4 separate regions of the Homo sapiens genome follow, and regions 1, 2 and 3 are each linked to region 4. The links are contacts of gene promoters, found by promoter capture Hi-C in blood cells and fetal thymus (Javierre and others, 2016). All regions are on one chromosome and are shown on one strand. The core of a region is centred on a gene start or on the middle of the fragment in contact, and the rest is flanking DNA. Distances in the headings are between cores, read along the strand shown. Region 1 has its middle 22 kb from the start of ITLN1. Region 2 has its middle 33 kb from the start of ITLN2. Region 3 holds the start of LOC101928372 (a long non-coding RNA gene). Region 4 holds the start of NHLH1 (nescient helix-loop-helix 1).

Region 1 (5,003 bases), core at 1,638-4,137, 540 kb after region 4:
GTGTTACACTTGCAACTCTTTTCTAAGTTCTTCAACAAACCATAGTGAGAGAGAGAGAGAAAACAAATGTAGCAAAATGTCTAGATGAAGGAGTTCATTGCCAATCTTTTGCACCTTGTAGGGGATACATGGCAACATATTCAAGCTTCTATACAAGGCATTTGAGGTCGAGGTATGGCAAAATACTGAAGCACTGTGTGCATGTTTTTTGGGCATGAGACTGAAATTCCTTGACCCTGAAAACAGAGCAAGGAACAGAATGTGTGATAAGGAGCTGTGTGATAAGGAGTTGTGTGATAAGGAGCGCTGAAAACAGCCTCCTGAGAATGTGGTCTGAGTGATTTTAGATGTAATAAACAAGGCCGTATGTGCCTCATGACCCAACTGCAAATTGTTACCTAGTGGATGTCTCTTGGTTGTCTAAATTGTAATTCTTGTACAATTACAATTTAGATTACAATTACAATTACAATTAGAACTACAATTTAGAGAGGGCTTGTTGCCCTCTTAATAAATACTTGGCAGACAGATCTTAGAGTGGCACTCTCTCAGAAGAGCTACTCCCTGCCCTGCTCAGCTGGAATTCTCTGAGTACTTCATTCTTGGCGTTCGCTGTAGCTACAAGCTGCAAGTGGTGACCCTGACATAACTGCGTTGAAATTACACGTGGAGTATGAAAACTCATCAAACTTCAGGGAATACCAGTAAGGGACAGTCCCAACCCATTTCAGGAAGATGGGACCAACGCATATAATACCAGGGATTGGGCTATCATGGGTCAGGAATTGACCAAAGAGCAGAAAGTATTTTTTAAAATGGTGCAACAATTACTTAAGGCTATCCACTGCACCTTAGAGTCTGAAGATTTGCATCAGCTTATGCTTTTTATTCAGCAGGAATGCTCTTGGTTCCCTGATCAAGGAACATTAGACTTAGAGTTATGGGAGGAGGTGGATCACTGCCTGAAAACAGGATTTAGGCAGGGCCATTTTACTAAGGTTATCATTTTGACCACCTGGGCCCTGGTACGCTCTGCATTGTACCCTCTTTATATGCCAGATTGCGGTGAGTCAGACTGCCCATTAGCTCCACCTGAAGGGAATTCAGGAGATTTAAAGAAAAACAGGAACCAGAACAACAGGGAGGGGCTCCTCTCCCTACTTCATTCCCTTCCGTAGGGCATAAGGAGGACACTTTCTAGTGATGATGAGGACAGACCGGAGCTTTTTCCTCCCCCAATAGAAAAGCCATTGCCCTCCTTTCCTCCACCCCTAAAAAAATCCACATCTATTGGCCCTGTTCAGGCTACAGTGCCTCCCATCCCCCTGGAGGAGATTGGAGGCCACCCAAGGGATGGACGGTTCTTGGATAAGACCCCCTGTCAGTGAACATCTATATTGTCACGCACGTCCGTGTGAAGAGACCACCAAACAGGCTTATGTGAGCAATAAAGCTTTTTAATCACCTGGGTGCAGGCGGGCTGAGTCTGAAAAGAGAGTCAGCAAAAGGTGGTGGGATTATCATTAGTTCTTATAGGTTTGGGATAGGCATACAAAGTACATTCCCAAGGGCGGGGAGAATATTACAAAGTACCTTCCTAAGGGCAGGGGAGAATATATCATATCAGTTAGGGTGGGGCAGGAACAAATCACAATGGTGGAATGCCATCAGTTTAGCCTATTTTCACTTCTTTTGTGGATCTTCAGTTGCTTCAGGCCATCTGGATGTATACGTGCAGGTCACAGGGGATATGTTGGCTTAGCTTGGGCTCAGAGGCCTGACATATATGATCAGGTGAACGCGTTCTCAGTGACGACTCCTCATCAAACTTCCCTAGTAGAGGGGTGCCTCCAGGAGGGACTTAAAAAGGGAGACTCTTAGGCACTTTTTGGCGCATTCCCTGTCATTGTTCAAAATGATAGGAGACGGCATGAGAGTTTGCCTTTTACTGTTTTTAAAGAGATAAAGAAAAGTATCTGTGAAAATGGTGTACATTCACCCTTTACCCAGGGGATGATTGAGGCTCTGGGAAATGGCTATAAGATGACTCCGCATGATTGGAAAACTTTAGTAAAAGTTTTGGTTTCAGCTGCAGAATATACTGTGCGGTGGAGTGAGTACAGTGATCTATCCATGCAGCAGCCCTTGCAAAATTTGGATAATAATATCCCAACACAGCTTGATATGCTATTGGGACCAGGTCCTTTTGCTTGAGCTCAGGCTCAAGCTCAAATAAACAGCCATCTATTTCCACAATGCTTGCAGCTAGCAATACAGGCATAGAAGAGGATACCCACGGGACAATCCCAGGGTTCCTTTATAACAGTTAAACAGAGTGCCACAGAAACATTCCTTTATAACAGTTAAACAGAGTGCCACAGAAACATACGTTGAATTTATCAACTGATTGCAAGCTGCACGTAGTGACCAACATCACATCAGCAGAGCTATAAAAAAACTCTGCTATTCAAATCCACTGCACACGGAATAAATCAGAAGATAAAATAAAAGTCTGTCAAAATTCATACAACTTGTGAGTGAGTTCTAAAAAGCTTAGTTTAGAAGGGCTAGAGAAAGAAAAACTTCAATGGGGCCCAAATCAGAATGCTTGTAATGAAACCCAGTCTCCAGGAAAACAACACTCACATGTGTTCAATCATATAAAATGATTTGTAACATCTCTAATTAGGTGAATCAACTAGAAACAAACTCACTAGTCAAAATAAATTTTTAAAGTATCTTGTAACCTATATTTTACTTTTCTGAGTATATTAAGGGGCTGCCAGCCCAGAGATATACTTAAGATATAGGCAAAAAATCCCCAGGCCTTTACACAAAAGATTTCCACTTTCAAACCAATGTCAGTGGACATTGATAAAAGTATAGCAGCATCCTCTACTAAGGTGATTTCATTTATTCCCTGCAACCCACTAATAAATATCCCACTTCTCCCAAACAGTATTTAAGCTCCTAGCTAAGCAAAAAACTATTGTCTATTAGCATTCAACTGAAGAAAAGAAAGATAAAATATTGTCTTGTTTCCATCACTGTATTACTTGGGCAACATAATTACATAATTCTTACCCTAAGAGAAAGCCTTCATATTTTTTTAAAAGTCTTTTCAAATAAAATCTTCTTATGTTTTAAACAATATAAAATACAAACTTTCACTTTATTTATTGTAAATTATAAAGAGATCATTGTCTTAATATATTGTTAGCTTCAAGCTTCCTAAAATATAAAAACATTGTTGTCTAAAGTCACATATTAACACTAAGCTCCGTGGTTTACAGAATCTCCTACATTTTTGCAAGCTCAAGCTGATCATTCCTTTTTTTATCAGAACAACCACAGTCTTAAACAACAGTTTTATTTGGCGCTCACTCAAGCTCGCATGATTATTAAAACCTGTCCTGACTGCCAATGGCATTCGCTCTCCCCTTTTTCGTTAGGACTTGGTGCCAACCCACGAGGTCTGGTGCCTAATGCTATCTGGCAAACTGATATTACTCAGCATCCACCCTTTAGATGCTTCAAATTTCTCCACGTTACTGTAGACACTTATACAGGCCTGAAATATGCTACTCCTCAGACTACAGAAAAAACTAAAGATGCAATTGCTCATCTTTTTAAATCTATTATGACTTTAGGCCTTCCACAAATTACAAAAACTGATAATAGACATTGCTGTCTTAGTGCTCGATTTACATATGCATTTACAACTGTGGCACATACAACACAAGACTGGCATTCCTTATAACTCAACCAGTCAGGCCAATGTTGAGCGAGCTCATCAAACTCTTAAAGTATATCTTAACAAACAAAAAAGGGGGAATATTGGGCTTTCTCCTCGAGAACAGGTAGGAGACAACTGAACCCCTCCTGATGATGAAAGACCTGTCGTTGGAGAATCGACCAGCAATGATAGCGATGACTCGGAAGGCATCTGACATTACCTGAGGGCAGCTAAAGAAATTGGATCAACAGGCAACTATCCAGCTTGTTGCCATGGGAGCCCCTGCAATTGCAGAGAATTGGTTTCTTATGTATCTGGCAGTAATTGGGGGAGCTTTTGAGAAAGTAAGACAGACATGGATGCTGGGGTGGCTGGTGATTCTCATCCTTTGCCAAGTGGGATCAGCTCAAGAACATGTTTACTGGAATCATATTCTGAATCCCACTGTTGGAAATGTTATTATGTGGTGGGATGCTGACCCGCCTTTGTCATCTAATGATACTTCTTGGATGGGAGGTCGATGGATGCCCCTGTCTTACCCCTTAACTGAAAATTTGGGATGGATTAAACTCAATGACTCCTTGACTTTATTGTCTAGCAACCCCCTTCTTTGTTTTTCTACAATAGCCCATGATAAGCACATTACTCTTATTCCTCTGGAGTATCTTTACTGTCACCTCAAAAGGGATGCCAAGCCCGCAAACTTGACCTTTATTTCTGCTGTTACCATTAATCTCACTAAGGTCTCTAATGAAGCTACACAAGTGCCTAGTCTTCTTATATGCTGTCTGAGAAGGGACTGGCAATGTAAGTTTGAGGCTGTCCAGTGTGAACCCCATGCAGACAACCTGCGCCACGACAAGGGCCTCTGCTTAATAATGGCACCTTACTTGATTGGGGTCCCCATGCTAATCTTATGTCTGCAAATCAGACTATTGGATTTGGGAGTCCTCCAATAGTTCCATCACCTGGTCAGAGTATGGGCTTTCAGGACCAATATTACAACTAAAAGGGAAGCAAGCTTTAAGCCCTGCTCATACCCAAATTTGGAGACTAGGTCTTCCCTTTTTTGAATGCGTTGTTTTGTATGGTGATTACATTTACAGCAGTGGCAACTATACCCTCTCCTTGCACAATAATGTTACTGATACAGTCCTGATTTGTACTACACACCCCTAGATAATTTTGTCTGGGCAGGGTATTCCTAACATAGAACAGAATCAATCCTTATATAGTATTACTTTCTCTTCCAGTAGTTGGTACGCTA
Region 2 (5,491 bases), core at 1,233-3,732, 620 kb after region 4:
TTGAAAGATAATTTAAGGTATATTATTCTCACCACAAAGAAATAATATTTGCTGTGATGTATATGTTAATTAGCTTGATTTGATCATTCCACAATGTATACAAGTATCAACATATCACTTGTACCTCATAAATATATGCAATTAGTATTTGTCAATTAAAAATAAAAGTTGGCTGGCTGCGGTGGCTCACGCCTGTAATCCCAGCACTTTGGGAGGCAGAGGCGGGTAGATCACCTGAGGTCAGGAGTTCAAGACCAGCCTGGCCAACATGGAGAAACCCCATCTCTACTAAAAATACAAAAATTAGCTGGACGTGGTGATGTGCGCCTGTAGTCCCAGCTACTCGGGAGGCTGAGGCAGGAGAATTGCTTGAACCCAGGAGGCAGAGGTTGCAGTGAGCCAAGATCGCACCATTGCACTCCAGCCTAGGCAACAAGAGACTCCATCTCAAACAAATAAAAAAATAAAAAATAAAAGTTTCGGCTGGGCGTGGTGGCTCACACCTGTAATCCAGCACTTTGAGAGGCCAAGGCGGGTGGATCACCTGAGGTCAAGAGTTCGAGACCAGCCTGGCTAACATGGTGAAACCCCGTTTCTACTAAAAATACAAAAAATTAGCCAGGCGTGGTGGTGCACGCTTGTAGTCCCAGGTACTTGGGAGGCTGATGCAGGAGAACTGCTTGAACCCAGGAGGCAGAGGTTGCAGCAAGCCAAGATCACGCCATTGCACTCCAGCTTGGGCAACAAGAGCAAAACTCTGTCTCTTTTTATTATTACTTTTTTAATAATAATAATAATAAAAGTGTTATGCGTGTCCACATAAGAGACCACCTGAACAGGCTTAGTGTGAGCAACATGGCTGTTTATTCACTTGTGTGTGAGTGGGCTGAGTCCGAGAAAGGGGTCAGCAAAAGGTGGTGGGATTATCATTGGTTCTTATAGGTTTGGGATAGGCGGTGTAGTCAGGAGCAATTTTTTACAGGCAGGGGATGGATATTACAAAGTACATTCTCAAGGGTGGGGAGGATGTTACAAAGTACATTCACAAGGGCAGGGAGGGTGTATTGTCACAAGGGCAGGGAGGATGTATTGTCACAAGGGTGGGGAGGAATGTTACAAAGTACATTCACAAGGACAGGAGTATCACAAAGTACATTATCACAAGGGTGGGGGAATGTCACCGTGGCTTGACCATAGTGCAGCCAGCTCAGAGGACCTTACAAAAAGTTTCATACTTGCACGTGTTTTCTTGTGGCAAAAATATAAAACATTTAATTTCTGGGATTCTTTTTTTTTTTTTTTTTTTTTTGAGATGTAATCTCACTCTGTTGCCCAAGCTGGAATGCAATGGCGAGGACTCAGCTCACTGCAAACTCCGCCTCCCAGATTCAAGCAATTCTCCTGCCTCACCCTCCAGAGTAGCTGGGATTACAGGCGCCCACCACCACGCCTGGCTAATTTTTGTATTTTTAGTAGAGACAGGGTTTCACCATATTGGCCAGGCTGGTCTCGAACTCCTGACCTTGTGATTTGCCTGTCTCGGCCTCCCAAAGTGCTGGAATTGCAGGGTGAGCCACCACGCCTGGCTGGGATCATCTTTTTTTCTACAGAGAGAAAATCAATTGTATCTCTACCAGGCAAACAATTTGCATTTGTATTAATATGAACAGGGATCATTTGTATCACTGTCAGGCTTCTACATATTTAACTTTTCTTTCTAGAGTTGCAAAACAGTACAAGACAAGGAAGGATACTGACCTGTAGAGAATCAGAAAACCCCCAGAAGCATCCTGTCCTCTAGTCTAGACAAATCCTAGTAATCCACTGGAAGGATGCCTGTATTTGTCCATTTCAGAAACTGTCACAATTTTTCCTTAACTAACAGCAGGAATTTTGATAGCCAAAAGTCATATTGTTTATTATCACTGTGGGAGCCAAGGCCTTTGGCTCCCTGAAGTTTGCTGAAAATCACTGACGCAAGGCAGATTAATAGGAAAAAAGGCATACAAACTTATTTAATATGTATACATAGAAGCCTTCAGAATGAAGACCCAACCTCCCAGTGAGGTGCAAAAGCTTATACGCCATCATGAGGTTACAGAAAGAATGAGTTTGGATCCTGCGGGAGAAAAGGAATTCTGTTGATGGGCAATAAATGATTACTAAAGAGAATGATTTGATCAGGAAACAAATTAACTTGTAAATAGTTTTCTTTGGAATTTAGATGACCATGAGAAGCAGGCATTAACTCATGAAAAGGTCTGTTCAGGTGTGGTTACATTTTTGGTCTTACAGGAGGAAAAGAAACCTACTGTTCTCCTTGGAGGGTCTGGATCTTAGGCAAATAAAGGAACTTCAGCTTTTTGGGAGAGACCGTGTGGAGCGGGGAAGGTCAGAGAGATCTTCAGGTTGCTTCTTCGGTTCAGTACTATATTTGGGGGTATCGATTTATAAACCCCAACATTACCTAATGTATTGTTCCCGATGAGCCTCCCTCCAATCCCTTTTCCCCTGTATCCCAATGGCCGGAAACTTGTGGAAATTCTTCCCAAGGCCTCTAAAAGCAGCACTTGCTTTTGCCTGGTTGCTAATGCAAGTTGTGAATTGCGCACGTGAATCACTATCACTGTCCATCCACCACTCTCTTGCTCTAAGGCATTGAAACGGCACTGCAGAGAGACGCCAGGTAACAAAGACTCTCCTTAACCAAGCTCTAGCATGGCTTCTAGCAACTTAAGGCCTTGTCCCTAGGAGGACCTCAGCCCCCCGCTTAAAATGCCTGCCTGAAAAAGCTCATCGCTGTCAGAAAAATTTACTGTGCATCCCAGCCCAAACCTAGCAATAGACACAGGCCCCTGAACTTCATCTTAGTGCAATTACTTAGAAAGAAAGCTTGCAATTAAAACATCTTTCTCTGCCTCTTTGAGATGTAAATCTTCTACCCAGAGCTATTTTCACTGGGACCTGAGAGTTTCTTTGAAATGCAAACATTTGAGGAAATAAATCTTGCTCCAGCTCCCAACCAGGTGGGTGCCTTGCTCTAACTTGCACTACTAGCTCCTGTCGTAAAAATAGGTGCTTATTTCTCTTCTGGACAAGAGCCAATTCACAAATCCAGATTGTCTAGTCACATGGAGCAATTCTCCTTAATATCTTCATGCCTATCCCTTAGCACATCCCAGCCTTCAAAAGGCCTCCTGCATTTTTTTTTTTTTTAAGGAAGTTAAGTTCAGTTCACCTTGGGCCCTCTTCCCTACTGCAATAGTTACTACTTAAAAAAACCTATCCTAGGCCGGGTGCAGTGGCTCACGCCTGTAATCCCAACACTTTGGGAGGCCGAGGTGGGCAGATCACCTGGGGTCAAAAGTTCAAAACCAGCCTGACCAACATGGAGAAACGCTGTCTCCACTAAAAATACAAAAAAATTAGCCGGGCGTGGTGGTGCATGCCTGTAATCCCAGCTATTCAGGAGGCTGAGGCAGGAGAATCGCTTGAACCCCGGACACGGAGGTTGCGGTGAGCCAAGATCGCGCCATTACCCTCCAGCCTGGGCGACAAGAGTGAAACTCCATCTCAAATAAATAAATAAATACCTATCCTTACTTCTTGTCTAAACTATTGTCTGGCTTTGTTTAGCTTTGACACAGGCTTTATAAGCCCACAAGTAACTTTAAGGCAAAGCCTTATAAATTCATCCAAGGCACTGACATTGAAGAATGTCTAACATTTCTGTGATATGCTTCAATCTCACTTCCAGCCTGTTCCAAACCTTCTTTTTAGTTTTCTACTTCCAGAGACTTTTTCCTTTGGTTAATCACCTTGTAATTCTTAGGTCTGATTCTCGAGCTAGCACATTTCAGCCCCTACAAATAAATGCCTTCTCCCAAAATGTGCAGCTCTTTTGCCATGCTACATTCTATTTGTCTTTCTAGTACTATTTTAATAAGTATCATAGCTCAAGCATGATCAACCCTCAGCTTCTTTATATGGTTATAGGAGTCTCTGACAAGCCTGAGGACAAGCATGTTCTGCATATTTTTTCTTGTCAACTTTTTTTAATGTGCAAAACATTAACATGGATCCAGAAGTCAAAACTAGACAAAATGGTAAATAAACTCAGAGAAGTAATACTCCATCATGTATCTATTTTTATTTTTATTTTTTTGAGACAGAGTCTCGCTCTGTCGCCCAGGCTAGAGTGCAGTGGCGCGATCTGGGCTCACTGCAAGCTCCGCCTCTGGGGTTCACACCATTCTCCTGCCTCAGCCTCCCAAGTCGCTGGGACTACAGGTGCCCACCACCACGCCCGGCCAATTTTTTGTATTTTCAGTAGAGACTGGGTTTCACCGTGTTAGCCAGGATGGTCTCGATCTCCTGACCTCGTGATCCGCCCGCCTCAGTCTCCCAAAGTCCTGGGATTACAGGTGTGAGCCACCGCGCCCGGCCGATCATGTATCTATTTCATCTAGACCTTATCTACCTCTTGAAATAACCAATTTAGTTTATTTTCCTTCCTGTGTTTGTTTCTGCAAAAATAAGCAAATATAGTATGCTTTCTTATTTCCCCTCCTTTCGTATCAAAAAGGTGGCCTTTTTTTTTTTAATTTTCTCATAGAGACAGGGTCTCACTTTGTTGCCCAGGCTAGTCTCAAACTCTTGGCCCCAAGCAATCCTTCCACCTCAGCCTTCCAAAGTGCTTGGATTATAGGTGTGAGCCACCATGCCCAGCCATTTGTCTTTTATTTTCCTTTTTTTTTTTTTTTTTTTTTTTGAGACGGAGACTTGCTCTGTTGCCCAGGCTGGAGTGCAGTGGCGTGATCTCGGCTCACTGAAACCTCCGCCTCCTGGGTTCACGCGATTGTCCTGCCTCAGCCTCCTCAGTAGCTGGGATTACAGGCGCGTGCCACCACGCCCAGCTAATTTTTGTATTTTTGGTAGAAACGGGGTTTTACCATGTTGGTCAGGCTGGTCTTGAACTCCTAACCTCGTGATCCACCTGCCTCGGCCTCCCAAAGTGCTGAGATTACAGGCGTGAGCCGCCGCACCAGGCGCCATTGTTTTTTTTAAATTGGGCAGCTTCCAGAACCTGCCCAGGCTCAGATAGACTCCCTATCAAGCTTTTGAATTTTTGCCAATCAGATAGGTAAGGTTAACTATTTTTATCCCCTCTTACTTATCTCCAGCGAACCAGGCCTGTTACGTAGCATCACTGTTTAGAAGTTCCATGTCAGACTGGGCGTGGTGGCTCACGCCTGTAATCCTAGCACTTTGGAAGGCCGACGCGGGCGGATCACTTGAGGTCAGGAGTTCAAAACCAGCCTGGCCAACATGGTGAAACCCCGTCTCTACTAAAACTACAAAAAAATTTAGCCAGGTGTGGTGGCGGGCGCGTGTAATTCCAGCTACTCGAGAGGCTGAGGCAGAAGAATTGTTTGAACTCGGGAGGTGGAGGTTGCAGTGAGCCGAGATCGCGCCACAGCACTCCAGCCTG
Region 3 (2,700 bases), core at 199-2,698, 560 kb after region 4:
TGGCAGTCTTCAGTATATCCTCAACACAGCCAAAGTCATCCTGTTAAATCAGGCTACCCTCCTACTCAGACCTCTCTGAAGGCTTCTAGTCTTGCCCAGAAGGCCCACAATATCCTACACAATCTGCTCCCATCTTACCTTTGTGCTGTCATGACCTGCTGCTTTCCTCCATACTTATGCAGCTTCTGCTAGCCAAATCTCCCTGCAGCTCCCTGAACGCAGTGAAGATACTCCCATCTCAATACCTTGGCAGTTGCTATTCCCTCTGCCTGGTACTTTATGGCTCAATCCCTCACCTTCTTCAGATCCTTCCTCAATGTCACCTTCTCACTGAAGTCTTCTTTAAAGATCTATTAAAGTTGTAAACCACCACCACCCCCAATATATCTATGTCGCTACTCAACTTTCTTTTTCTCCATAGCACTTTTCAAACTTAACATTCTAGTCTGGGTGTGGTGGCTCATGCCTGTAATCCCAGCACTTTGGGAGGCTGAAGCGGGGGGATCATTTGAGCCCAGGAGTTCAAGAACAGCTGGGCAACATAAGGAGACCTGGTTTAAAAAAATAAAAATAAATAAATAAATAAAAACTTGACATTCTATTATTTATTTTTATAGCATATTGTATATTTCCTGGTACTAGGGTACAATCTCCAGAAAGGCAGAAATGTGTACCTGACTTGTTGCTATATCCCCAGCATCTAGAATATGTTCTGGCACATAATAGGCTCGCAATTAATGCTTTTAAAAGAAATAAACACACAAATTTGTGATTAGAAAACATTCATGAAGCCTGCTGTTAGTTCTAGAGCAGCCACTAAAAGGATAGAAAAAAAGCTTACAATTTTAAAACTAGTAGAGAGAAAAAAACAATGACACAATTGTGTCAGTTTCCTAGGGTTGCCATAACAAATTGTCACAACCTAGGTGGCTTTTTAAGAAATTACTCTATTTCAGAGGTGAGAAGTCCAAAATTAAGGCATCAGCAGGACTGTGCTCTGTCCAAAGACTCTGCAGGAGGATCTTCTCTTGCCTCATCCAGCTTCAGGTAGAAAGCAATCCTTGGGTTTTTTGTTTGTTTGCTTTTGGTTTTGATAGAAATGGAGTTTCACTGTATTTTTTGCCCAGGCTGGTCTCAAACTCCTGGGCTCAAGCAATCATCCCACCTCAGCCTCCCAAAGTACTGGGATTACAGGTATGAGGCACCATGCCTGGCCAATCCTTGGTATTTATTGATTTGTGGCCACATAACTCCCTTCTCTGCCTCCGTCTTCATACAGCTGCCTTCCATCTGTGTGTGTTTCTGCATCTGTGTCTCTTCTCTTCTTATAAGGATATTAGTTATATTGGAATTAGGGCCCACCCTAATCCACTATAACTGCATTTTAAATAGTTGCATCTGCAAAAATCTCATTTCCAAATAAGGTCACATTCACAGGTACCTTGGATTAGGACTTTAACATACCACTTTAGGGAACACAGTTCAACTCACAATAGCAATCATCAGTCTTGGTCTTGAATTATGTCTATATTCATACAGAATGCTCAGCAATGCTATGATCTGAACATTTATGTCCTCTCAAATTCATATGTAGGTTTGTTAATATCCTGTTTAGAATTGTTGCATATACAGTCATGAGGGTGGTTGGCTTATAATTATCTTTTCTTGTGATACTCTTGTGAGATTTTCATATCAAGGTTATGCTGGATACATTGTTAGAGGAGCAGCCCACAAGACCACCCTCACTTCTGACACCGATTGCAAGGTTGGGGTCCCCCAATATCCTCCTCCTCTCTGACATTAATTGTCAGCTTGGGGGGACCCCAAGACCACCCGTGAGTTTAATAATTCACAAGACAAACTCACAGTGCTCATGGAAAGTTACGGTTTATTGCAGCTAAGAATACAGGTTAAAATCAGCCAAGGGAAGGGGTACATAGGGCAGAGTTCAGGAAAGCTCTAAACACAGAACTCCCAGTTGTCCTTTCCATGAGTTGTGGACAGTGTTAATTTCCTGACATCCAGTGTGTGATAATACTCGCAGAATATTGTCAACCAGGGAAGCTTACTCAGGCCAGTTTATTAGGCTCAATCACATAAATCTGGTCAGCTGCCCTCAGTCTCCTAGCCCTTGCAAAGTTTGAGCTGATACCACTGTTCTGGTGTGGGGTTTTCATGAGGTTGCAGTCACATGGTGGCTGGGGTTGGGATAATCTTTAAGACTCTTTCTCTAACATGTCCGATCCCTGGGTGGGCAGACTGAAACAGCTACAGAAAGAAGCATATATGGCTTCTTGGGCATCTTTCTACTTCTATATGATCTTTTCACATGGTCTCTCCAGCATAGCAGCTTCAGGATAGTGGACTTCTCACTTAATAAATCAGGATCCGAAGGCACAAGTCCTAAGAAAGAGAAAGCCAGGAAGAAGCTGTATCATTTTTTAGGATGCAGTCTCAGAGGTCACACTTCTGCCATATTCTTTTCATGAAAACTTAGTCACTAAGCCCGCCCAAATTTGGTGGGGTGGGGGGAATTACCAAAGAATTGGCAGGCTATATGCAGAATATGCCATATCAGTGAATTTTCTATGTCAGAATGATCTTTCCAAGGTGAAAAACAATACTGGGTCAGGGTTGGTCTCTGGATTTTGAAAGCAACACATATAACATGTGAGCCTGCTGCTTTCATCTAGGCCAATT
Region 4 (5,463 bases), core at 2,011-4,510:
CACTTTATACAGTTCACCTAGCACTTTCCCATGCATTATTTCACCTGGGTGTCACTACTATAACAAAATAAAACTCAGCCAAGGTTAAGTGACTTATCCAAGGTCACCAGGACTTAGACCCATGTGTAGCTGCCCCCAAATTTAGTAGATGTAGTTCTTCCCACCATTTCATGCGTTTATGTCCTCTTTGTCACAACTATGTTCTTTTTTAGCTACTCCCCTAAGGAGCAAAAGCTGAAATCCTAAGTGAAAACTGGGGCAGGAGGCCCCAGAGTCCAGGATCCTGGGATGCCAGATGCAGAGGAGGAGGAGCAGCCCCCAGAGCACTCTTTCACCCTCCTCTCCCGTGGAACCTTAGCTTGAACTGCGACGGGTTCAGGCGGTGTGCTTCAGGGATGGAGGTTGCAGAGCTTAAGTATCTGAGCAAAATGGCCTGAAAGGAGGGAGCCCTGCAAGGGGTTTGGCTTCTTCCTGCATGCTCTATGCCATCCTCAAGGTTCCTTTCTGCTTCGGGGGTCTCTCTAGATTCTGCTTCTTTTTTCCTCAATGTCTTACTTTTTGGGATCTGGCCTCCCTGTTTCAGTAATAGTTCCTCATCTCCATCGTTCAGTTTATCACCTTTCCCCACCTTGTTCTCTTTGTCTCTGGTATTTTTTGTTTCCTCCCAACTGTCTGCTCTCTGCTTACCCCGTGCCTATGTGGCCCCACCTTGCCTTGGGGCCTCCCTCAGGACTCTGTCTCATGGTGTCAGTATTTCCCTGCCGCTGAATAGCTGTTTCCTCCACATATGTATTCATCCAAGTCTGTGTCTCCCTAGCAGCCTCCTTTTTTTTTTTTTTGACGGAGTCTTGCTCTTGTCACCCAGGCTGGAGTGCAATGGCACAATTTTGGCTCACTGCAACCTCTGCCTCCCGGGTTCAAGCGATTCTCCTGTCTCAGCCTCTCGAGTAGCTGGGATTACAGGCGCCCACCACCACGCCCAACTAATTTTTGTATTTTTAGTAGAGACAGGGTTTCACCATGTTGGTCAGGCTGGTCTCAAACTCCTGACCTTAGGTGATCCACCCGCCTCGGCCTCCCAAAGTGCTGAGATTACAGGCGTGAGCCACCGTGCCCGGCCACAGCATCCTCTTTTAAAGCCTCTCCCCAAGTCTCTATCTCTCCCATAGCTTGGGTCTCCAAGTCTTCCACAAAGCCTTGGCAACCTGGCAATTCTGTTTCCATTCTTTTTTTTTTTTTTTTTTTTAAATCTTTTTACCTCCTTTGTGTCTCAATCTCCCCATGAGACTGTGTCTTCCCATTTCCCTATGTCTTTCCCATGTCTGTTACCCAATGACTCTGGTTTCTCATTTTTTTCTCTCCCTGAGTCTCGGTATCTTCCCGTGTCTTTCTCGTCGTTTCCCTCCGCTTCCCCTGTCTCTGTTCATCTCCCCTTCTTTCTGTATCTCTCATCTCCCCCATGGCACTCTCTCCTGAGTCTCTTGGTCTCCCAATTTCTTGGATGGGGTGGAGGGCAGGAGAGTGGAGGAGGTAGAATTGTTGTTGCTGGGGGCTCATTAGGTGGAGATTGGTTTTTAATCAGCACCATGGCAATGATGATGCAAGAACTGAGATGCCACCTGATCCCCTGCCCCCCAGCCCCCCTCCTCAAGCCTCCTTTCCCCTCCAGCTCAGCCCATCTGCTGGCGCCTGGGCACCTGTCTGGGCCTGCCCAGGTGGGAGTTGGCACCTCCCAGACTCAGGGATGGGGGCAGGTGGGGGAGCTTGGGGAGGAATTATGGGACCCCCTTAGGGAATGCTTCACCCTGGAGAAAGCCCAGAAAAGGTTGACCAGCAACAGGGAAATGGCAAGTCCCTCCAGCCTGAAGGTGGGATGTGCTCCTACTAAGCTCTAGGCCCACTACACATATTATCTCCCTTAATTTCCATGGCAACCTAAGAAGCAGCTATAATCAACCCCATTTTACAGGAAAAGAGGTCCAGGCTCAAAAGGTTGTTATTTGTCCAAGGTCACACAGCTGACAGAGCCTTTTTCACTGTACCACACTACCTCTGGAGTCCTCTCCAGTCATGGTTCTTTTGAATACTCTCAAAGGTTCAGAGAAGACATCCAACAGCTGAGTGGGGAGAGAACTTCAGACACTGAAACCCTCTATGCACTGTCTCTCTATGCACTCTGGTCCCTGTGCTGCCCCTCCTCAATCCTGCCACTCGGCAACACACACATACACACACACACTCACACTTACATTCACATTCACACACACTTGCATATACATGCTGGAGGCTGCTGAGCTATTGATGGGAGCTTAATCAGTGCCCATTTGCATATAATTTTGTGTCTGGTTTTCTTATTGCTGATTTGATGCCCTCAAAACACACTCAGAGCCTGCCTAGGCTGCCCTGCCCTCCTCTCCCAGTGTCCTTCCAATCCTGGTTCTTCCTGTCTTGGCACTCCTCCACTCCTCTCCTTTTAGCCCTTACCTCTTTCTTCCTAAGAGCCCTCTAATTCCCAGTGGGTCAGGTTGGGCTGGCCAGCCTAGAAAAACTCCTTGTGGGGTCTGTGTCCCAAATTTGATCCTGCTCCTCCCCTTGGTGATGGGTTAGGTAGGAAGATAGCGGGTGGGGTAAGAGGGTATGGGGGTGATTGAGTCCCAGGGTGATGAGGGTAGGGGCCTGAACAGTTGCTACAGGCAGGCTGGCAAGCAGTGGGTACCAGCTTTATGAAGGATAAGAGCTTGAGGGCCAGGACCCTAGGGTCCTCTTCTGCATTTTAGTGCTACCCACTTGCTCTTTTCTCGGTTTCCCTGTTAGTACCTTGAAGAGTCTCCCTCTCAGGAAAAAAGAGACACCAGGAAGGGGCTGTCCAAGTCACGCTGGGACTCCGAATGGGGCCATGGCACTTAACCATAGCTTGCTGGGAGCCTCTGCCCTGCTGCCTCTGGTGTGGGAGACTGAGGGGGTTCATCTGTGGTCCTGCCCTGGCTCTCGCCCCAGCCCCACCCCTTCCCCAGCTCTCCATTTCTTGCTTATGAAATATGCATGGAGAACAGATGTCCCTGCTCCCCCGCTCCCCGCCCCCACCCAGGGCCAGCCCCCGCCCCCAGCTCCCGAGGGGTTCCCAGATCCCTCTGCCAATGGCTGCCTGGCCTGGCTGTTTAATATTGATGAGGGGGGGGTGGGCCTGGGCCAGCCAATGGAGAGCTGGGGGTGTGTGTGTGTATCTCCATATATATACATAGGGCTGGGCCAGCTCAGGTGTGTGTGTCTGAGGGTGTGTGTGTGAGTGTGGCTGGCCCCAGTACCTGGCCAAGCCCACCACTTCCACCTGGGCCCTACACCCCCACAATGTGTACCCCTCTTATCTGCCCTGGAGCCTGTACAGCCATGCCACGCTACCCCTGAGAGTCTAGAAAGCTGGTCACTAACTTTGCAGACGGATGAGCCTTGAGCACCCAGAGGAGACTGGGGCTGTCAACGCTGCCCCTTGTCCTGCCGGCTTGGATCCCCTGACAGGGTCCTTCTAGGTAAAGGGGAAACCATGGGCGGGGAGGGATGGGCGTGTCCCTCCCATTCTCTGGCTCAAGCCCCTTCCTAGAGCCTCCCTCTAGTTCTCTCCCTTGTGCGCTGTGTCTCTCCCTGTCTCCGCGTGTCCCTCTTCTCCACTCCTCCCCTTCGACTCTTTGTGCCTATCTATCCTCAGTTGGGTTAGGGCTGGCAGAAGTGGGGTGGGAAGTCCTGTCCTGCAGGCTTGGAATTGCTGCTCCCCTGATCCTTGGACCCTGGAACTTTGAGACCAGAAGTGGATTTGGGGGTGAGGACTTGATGGGTAAATAGAAGCTGCTGCCGGGACTGGAACTGGGGAGGACAATGGGGCCAGGTGGAGATGAGACTGGGGCCAGATGGGGAGCACGGAGAGGGGAAGGAAGGGCATGGCAAAGTGATGAGGGATGAAGGAACATAGGGACCGGGCAGAGAGAATTAGCCTGTGATAGATGTGATAAATGTGTTGGGAACTCCGCAGCTGAACTCCTGCTCCCAGCCCCAGCATGGGGGGTGGGGAGTTGGGGGCACTAAACATGTACTGGGAGGTGCTGACTTTGGGGCCTCCCACACTATTGCCATCCCCCCATAGTTCATTTGAACCCCAGAATATGGAATGTGTTCTCAATTTCAGCACTAACCACCTTCTGTTTCCTGTTAAGATTGTGTGTGTACTTGTCATCAGATGTGGATGACTTTGCATCCCTCCAGAGCTTCATAGCTGTTTGTTGGCTTGACTTGAACCTATCTTCTGTGTGGTGGGGTGGGGCAAGGCTTGGGAGGATCCTAACCCCTTTGAGAGTATCTATCAGACAGGAAAGCCAGGGCTGGGGAGGAAGGGGAGATAGTGATGGTGCAGGCACCTTGGTGCTTCTGTTTCTAATCATTCTTAGTTGAGCTGATGGTGAGTGGCCCACTGTTCCCCTTTAACACTGCACACAAGCAAAGCCCTTTCCCCAGCTTTTCCCAGGCCATGTTTGTGCTGCCTTGCCCTGATCTCCTCTGGTCCTAGGACAAGCAAACCTTAGCTGAGTCCCATAAGGGTAGCTCCAAAAATCTGTCTGTGTCCTCTGCAGGCCGTGTCTGAACCTTCCTTGGGCTATGGGAGAGTATGGGGGTAGAAGGTTGATTATGTTCCCTTTCCCCAATCTTCCTTGCCCAGCCTCCAAAAGGGCCAGGGAATGGCAAGGGCTGAAAATTTCGAAGACAGAGGTGGAGGAAGAGGCTGGTTGTGCACAGTGGGGTGGTGGTGAGAAGAGATATCTTCCCCTGGTTTTAGTGGACAGGATCTCATATCTACAATGGTTCTGCTGGGAAGGTTTGGGGAACTGGGAGGGGAGCTGTGCAGAGCTGGGGCAGCTGCGCAGAGCTCCATATGTCCTAGTCTATTCTACAATGGGCAATCTGTGTGTTTATCCGCTCCTCCACCTCAGGCAGCAAGGGTGGAGAGGGGCCCTGAGAGGGAGGGGACCACAGGGCCAAGGCTTGTATTCTCCCCTCACAACTGGGAAGCATCTAGAGTCATAGCTAACTTCTCTTGGGGCTGTGGCTGCAGTCTTGCTCAGATTTTTTCCTCCTTTTATTTATTCATTTAGATAAAAAACAGCATACAATTTATAATCTTAACCATTTTTAAGTGTACAATTCAGTAGTGTTCAGTATATTCACATTGTTGTGAAACAGATCTCTAGCAATTTTTCATCCTGCAAATGTATAATTCTATACCCACTAAACAACAACTCCCCTTTACCCCCTCCCTCCAGCCCCTGGCAACGGCCATTCTACTTTCTGTTTCTATGAATTAGACTACTTTAAATACCTCATATAAGTGGAGCTATACAGTATTTGTGTTGTTACTGGTTTATTTCACTTATCATCATATCCTCAAGGTTCATTCATGCTGTAGCATGTGACAGAACT

The links. The method cuts DNA at HindIII sites, captures the fragments that hold promoters and counts their contacts. A CHiCAGO score of 5 or more calls a contact.
Region 1: a fragment that was not itself captured here is called in contact with the fragment with the promoter of NHLH1 in region 4 in 5 of 17 cell types (non-activated CD4 T cells, naive CD8 T cells, fetal thymus and 2 more); the score reaches 6.7 in non-activated CD4 T cells.
Region 2: a fragment that was not itself captured here is called in contact with the fragment with the promoter of NHLH1 in region 4 in 2 of 17 cell types (non-activated CD4 T cells and activated CD4 T cells); the score reaches 6.9 in non-activated CD4 T cells.
Region 3: a contact is called between a fragment that was not itself captured here and the fragment with the promoter of NHLH1 in region 4, in 2 of 17 cell types (total CD4 T cells and total B cells). The highest score is 5.9, in total CD4 T cells.

Annotation. Positions count from the first base shown.
Region 1 is chr1:160,904,713-160,909,715 of GRCh38, forward strand. No RefSeq gene overlaps it. Among named protein-coding and RNA genes, the nearest start is that of ITLN1, 22 kb to the left of the region's middle. The HindIII fragment of the contact is 675 bases long and covers 2,551-3,225 here.
Region 2 is chr1:160,984,871-160,990,361 of GRCh38, forward strand. No RefSeq gene overlaps it. Among named protein-coding and RNA genes, the nearest start is that of ITLN2, 33 kb to the left of the region's middle. RefSeq lists a silencer at 2,529-2,823. The HindIII fragment of the contact is 816 bases long and covers 2,075-2,890 here.
Region 3 is chr1:160,929,775-160,932,474 of GRCh38, forward strand. It overlaps LOC124904441 (a long non-coding RNA gene), which reads right to left. Exons shown (of 2, transcript XR_007066689.1): 2 at 1,872-2,403. LOC101928372 (a long non-coding RNA gene) reads left to right here and starts at 2,691. Exons shown (of 6, transcript NR_110695.1): 1 at 2,691-2,700. The HindIII fragment of the contact is 1,228 bases long and covers 835-2,062 here.
Region 4 is chr1:160,363,811-160,369,273 of GRCh38, forward strand. NHLH1 (nescient helix-loop-helix 1) reads left to right here and starts at 3,261. Exons shown (of 2, transcript NM_005598.4): 1 at 3,261-3,527. The HindIII fragment of the contact is 14,453 bases long and covers 1-5,463 here.